Linked DNA regions of Homo sapiens: region 2 is linked to region 1. The links are contacts of gene promoters, found by promoter capture Hi-C in human tissues and cell types (Jung and others, 2019). All regions are on one chromosome and are shown on one strand. Each heading gives the region's core, a stretch centred on a gene start or on the middle of the fragment in contact. The rest is flanking DNA. Distances are from core to core; before and after follow the strand shown. Region 1 holds the start of FAM131A (family with sequence similarity 131 member A). Region 2 overlaps ABCC5 (ATP binding cassette subfamily C member 5).

The links. The method cuts DNA at HindIII sites, captures the fragments that hold promoters and counts their contacts. A contact is called where the count stands out against the background at its distance.
Region 2: a contact is called between a fragment that was not itself captured here and the fragment with the promoter of FAM131A in region 1, in 1 of the 25 tissues and cell types used here (spleen).

What each region holds. Positions count from the first base shown.
Region 1 is chr3:184,336,244-184,338,943 of GRCh38, reverse strand. FAM131A (family with sequence similarity 131 member A) reads right to left here and starts at 1,344. Exons shown (of 6, transcript NM_144635.5): 1 at 1,226-1,344; 2 at 415-557. The coding sequence starts at 1,313. RefSeq lists an enhancer at 191-802 and silencers at 2,601-2,670, 2,594-2,700. The HindIII fragment of the contact is 28,060 bases long and covers 1-2,700 here.
Region 2 is chr3:184,011,166-184,013,865 of GRCh38, reverse strand. All of the region lies in intron 2 of ABCC5 (ATP binding cassette subfamily C member 5), which reads left to right. It overlaps ABCC5-AS1 (ABCC5 antisense RNA 1), which reads right to left. Exons shown (of 3, transcript NR_046570.1): 3 at 2,447-2,600. Among named protein-coding and RNA genes, the nearest start is that of ABCC5, 5.4 kb to the left of the region's middle. RefSeq lists an enhancer at 2,261-2,700. The HindIII fragment of the contact is 5,237 bases long and covers 1-2,700 here.

The sequences.
Region 1 (2,700 bases), core at 95-2,594:
CCAGCCAGGCCTAGGCGGGGGAGCACCTGCTGGGTGTTTCTTAGCTTGCTCTCCCTCCCTCGCTTCGCTCCCCTCAGCCGCCGCCATCCGTGCCCGGCGCTCCGCGCAGCTGCGGCCCAGGCCCAGAGAAAAGGTGTATGTCTCCCTGGCAACCCATCACCACGCAACAGGGTCTCCCGGGATACGGCCCGGGATGCGCTGACGTCAGCGCGGAAGGCGCGAGCTCTCCGCCTGCTGGCACAGCGCCGAGCAGAGCAGACCGGCACGGGGGCGGCCTCCCGGCCCGCCGCCGGATAGCGCCTCCGCCCGCCGGAAAAGGGAGCCAGAAGCTGGCTGGCCAGGCGTGGGTGGGGGCTGCAGATCCCCTTTATATGGATGACGTCCTCCTTCCCCCCACCACCAGGGGCCCAGCACCTCTGGCAAGTCCTGACTGTCCACCGAGGAAGGGCGGGAGGACCTGCTCCAGCCTCGGAGGGTTCGAGCAGATCCCAAAGAGGATAGAGAGAGACCCCGAGGAAGTTCGATCCACTCCACAGCCCAAGCGGGGTCCGAGGACACTGAGAGGAAGGGGAAAGGCTGTTGAGCTGTGCCCCTACTTCTGCAGAGATCCCCATTTTCATCCAGTATTGCCGTATCATTTCTCGGCCCCTCCCCCACCTTCCAGAAGACCAGCGCCCACTGAGTGCTCTCCTCAACTCTAAAAGCCCCCATCCCACACATCACTGACCCTCGGGCCCCTGGGGCCATTCTGTGGCAGCCCACTTGCCACCTTCCTGCTCTGGATAAATTTTGCCTCAAAACCCTAGGGTGAAACCAAACAATGATAAATTCTGACTCTCCTTCCCGTTTCCCAGCCTACCCATTCCTCTTGGAAAGCACACTGAGTTCTTCCGCCATCACTGTCCCCCCCACCACCGCCACCCTGGACCCTTTGCAGGAGGGTTGCCTTCCTTCTCTCTTCCTGCTGCCTTCTTTCCTCTCGCCAGCCTCAGCTGGTCCACAGCTCTTTACTCTTCTTTTCTGACGAACTCATGATATTTTTTCTGATTTTCACCCCTGTCCCCTGAAGCCGTTTCCTGATGCCCTGTCTGGCCCCAGCCTGGTTCTCCCTGTTTCAGCCTGGTTCTTAATATCTAAGCCAGAGTAATTTTCCTTTTCCACCTAAGCACCCTACTGCTCAGCTTCCCATCATCTCCCAGATCACATCCATGATCCCTGGTCTCACCTCTGCGACTTGTCTGACAAGTCCATCGTCCTCCAGGCCCTTCACGCTGCCACAGAAACATTTTGCCCAGCACAGAAATCATAGGCATGCTGGCTGTGTTGATGCAGAGAACCAAAAGCCCAGAACCGCTCCAGGCTCAGCTCCCAGTTCTATTCCTGTTTTGGCTCCGGATGCTGAGCCAGTCCCCTCCCCATTTGGAACCTGTGCCTAGTCACATAAGGAGAACATTCCTGCCTCATGGCTCTGAGGAGGTGGGAACACCAGGGCTCAGCCAAGCTCTCTGGGACTCGGGGAGCTGAGGCCCATTCCCTAGACAGTGCCAACAGGCAATGTACATCACAACTGACCTTTAGCTGGAGCAGCCGTCTCTATCCCTGAGCCTCGGCCAGCTGTTGGTCCCCAGAAATGCTACCAACCAGAAGGAAAACAGGAGGTTACAGGCCATCCCTGGCCCCCAACTGGTACCTAACCAGGGCTCTCGAGGCCAGTCCTGAGGTCAGCCAAACTCACCCCTGACAAGAGAAGGTGATGACTTCCTGAACTCCAAGCCTTGATAGGGCCAGAGAGATCAGAGCAGTCAGCTGCTCCTCAGCTTCAAAAGCCACGAGGTTAACTTAGGACTACAAATCCCAGAATTCCTCAAGGGAAGTACAAATCTCAGCCAGTCTTAGCTCCAAAGAACATCAAGTACCAACCACACCAAGGCCTGTGTGACTGACCACCTGCCCTGAAGGTCCAGGACCCATCCCAAACCCAGTCCTGCCTTGCCTTATGCGTGGAGAAATCCACCACACCGGAGTAAAGGAAGCTGGCCGACCTCTGATGCACAGGACTACGGCCAGGCCCGGTGTGCATGGCCACCCACGGAAACCGAGGCCCAGGCAGGGGTCAGCACTGTGGGAAGGAAGCCCTGATGGCCTGCCTCTGGGTTCCTCTTTCCCTCCACAGAGTAGAGTGATTTGTTTTTGCTGAGTGGGGGCAGGACATTAAAACAACTGTAATAGGTGAGAGGTGATTCAGTGTTCACAGGTGCCCCAAACGGGACCTCAGTCCCCCTTCGCCGACTGACTGAAGAGGGGAGTCAATGTCCGACAAAAATTCTGTGGTAGGGTGCTTAGCCAGGACCGAAAGGCTACCTCTTTAAGAAGATGGGGACACGGCTGGGAGAAGCAGGTTCCCAGCACAGGGCCACTCCCAGGACTGTGAAGGCAGAGGTGTAGGCGGAGGGGAGTGTGTGTGTGGGCGCGCAAGGCCAGTCGCCGAGGGCTGGAGTGGTGGGGGCATCGGGCTGCCCAGCCCCTCCCGGGGCTGTGCGTCTCCGGCCACCCTGAGCAGTGGGCACACGGCAGCCAGCGGCGAGACCATGCGTCTGCCCTGCAAAACCCCAAGGCAGGCAGGCCGTGGGAGCGAACCGGAGTCGGTCTGGCCCCTTCCCTGCTCATTCCCGCTCCCTCCTGTTGCCTGGCCCGCCTCCC
Region 2 (2,700 bases), core at 147-2,646, 330 kb after region 1:
GGCTTTAGGTTACTGTTAAGAATTTATGGTTATTGATAAGTCTCTGGTCCATAGTAAGCACTCAATAAGTGGAAGAGAGGCTGGCTGTCACCCTCTCACCCGGTCTGTTCTGAGCATTCTCCTCTTTTTCACTTTTATTCTATGTTGGTGCCTTCTGAAAAGGCTATACTTAACAGAAGACAACTTATTGAGGGGGAGGGGGTCATGGGGTCAATGACAGGGAATATAAAGCCAATTAAGCTTCATTCATGTACCTAAACAAAATTGGTGTTTTCTTCTACTTTCTGTCATGTGTGTTTAAAATGTGAACCTGGCCAGGCACAGTGGCTCATGCTTGTAATCCCAGCACTTTGGGAGGTTGAGGTGGGTGGGTCACTTGAGGTCAGGAGTTTGAGACCAGCCTGGCCAACACGGTGAAACCCTGTCTCTGCTAAAAATACAAAAATTAGTGAGGTGTGGTGGTGGGCACCTGTACTCCCAGCTACTCAGGAGGGAGGCAGGAGAATTGCTTGAATCCAGGAGGCAGAGGTTGCAGTGAGCCAAGATCACGCCACTGCACTCCAGCCTGGGCAACAGAGTGAGACTCCGTCTCCAAAAAAATAAAAAATAAAATAAAATGTGAATCCTTTGGAGAGACTCAGATTTCAGAACAATTCTAGATAGTTGTGGGATTATCAGTATGTTTTTCAAGCGAATTCATAAGTTAAGCAGTCTTTAGATAATAATCTAATTTCCTCCAAGGGAAATAATGAAGATGCGTTTTTACCTCGAGAAAATATTCTTTTTCCTGAGGAAAAAAAGCATTATACCTTTTCTTACAAAAGTACCTAATAAGGCAGAATGGACTAGGTTTAGGAAGTTGAGGTTTTTGTTGGTGTATTTGTTATGTGAAAATTTGAGAAAGATAATGGACTTTGCAGCTGACACTGGCCTTTCCTTAGCCTGATACTACCTTTCCCTCTTTGGTTGTGTTAAAGCCATTGCTTTATTAATGAACATTTTCTTGCTAATGAGTCTTTTCTGTACCCTACTGTGTATTATAGAATGCTTTTCCATTCAGGTTTAACTTCAGAGAAACAGGCTTAATGTAATCAGTGTCAAATGCTTCTCGTGGTGCCAGTTTTATAACTTCCTCATGTCCTTTTGTCTAGACCTTATGTTGATTAAACATCTATCCATTACATCTGAGTGCTAGACACATTTAGTGTAACAGTTAAGTCTGGAAAAAGTCAGAAGGTAACATTGGGGCAGGGCCTTAAAGGGTGATTAGGTGGGGAGGCTTTTTAGGCGGTACAAGTACAGACCCAAAGGTATGGAAAGAGCGTGTGACATATTGGGACTTTGGATAAGCTACTTACGTCATTTGTATATAAAATGGGGTTGACAGTAGTACCTGACTCATGGGATCACTGAGGAGTAAATGAGATAATACATATAAAATATTTAAAATGGTACCTGGCACATGGCCAGTGCTCAATAAATGTTAGCTCTTAGAACTAGTTGTTCAGGGCATAGGATGTGTAAAGAGATTATAGGTCGGGTGAAATTCTGCATGCCATGCTAAGAAATATTTCACTGTGGGCATTAGGGAACTATTGGAAGTTAATGAGATTAAAAAAAAAAACCTTTTTATTTTGAGCTAACTGTAGATTTACATGCAATTATAAAAAATAATATAGAGATCCTATATATTCTTCATCCAGTTTCCCCCAGTGGTAACATCTTGCATAACTATAGTCCAGTATCACAACAGGATAATGATTGACATTGATACAATCCATTGACTTTAGGATTTCACCAGTTTTATATGCACTCATTTGTGTGTGTGTGTGTGTGTGTGTGTGTGTGTGTTGTGTTCTATGCATTTTTTAAAGGTGTAAATTTGTGTGACCGCTTCCACAGTCAGGATGCAAAGGTTCCATCACAAGGATCTCTCGTTACCCTTTTATAGCCACAGTCATGTCCCCTCAACCCCAGTCTCTGGCAACTGCTAATCTTTTCTCCATTTCTGTAATTTTGTCATTTTAAGAATGCTATATACATTGAATCATATAGTATATAACCTTTCGAGATTGCTTTTTTCACTCAGCTGAACTCCCTTGATAGCCATCTAATTTTGTTGTGTGCATCAATAGTTCTTTCCTTTGTATTGCTGAGTAGCATTCCGTGTTATAGATGTACCATAGCTTCTTTAACCATTCATTTGTTAAAGGACATATGGGTCATTTCCAGTTAATGGCAATTATACATAAAGGTGCTCTGAACCTTCAGTTACAGGATTTTGTGTGAACATAAGCTTTTATTTCTCTGGATTAATGCCCAGGACTGCGCTTGCTGGGTCATATGGTAAGTGCATATTTAGTTTGTAAGAAACTGCAGTACTCTTTCCCAGAGTGTCTGTGCCATTTTACATTCCCACCAGCAATGATCCAGTTTTTCCACATTGTTGCCAGTACTCAATGTTATAATGTTTATTTTAGCCATTCCTATAGATGTGCCTGGTATCTGATTGTGGTTTTAATTTGCAGTTCCCTAATGGCTACGATGTTTGAGAGTAGATTTTTATCTTAGATTAGTCTTGAAGCAATGCAGAAAAAAACCTGTACAGGAGAAAGAGACCAAATATAAAGAGCATTCAGGAAGCGGCTCTGCCTATCCATGTCAGAGAGGCCAGGGTTCTGTTGTAAAGCACAGAAGTGA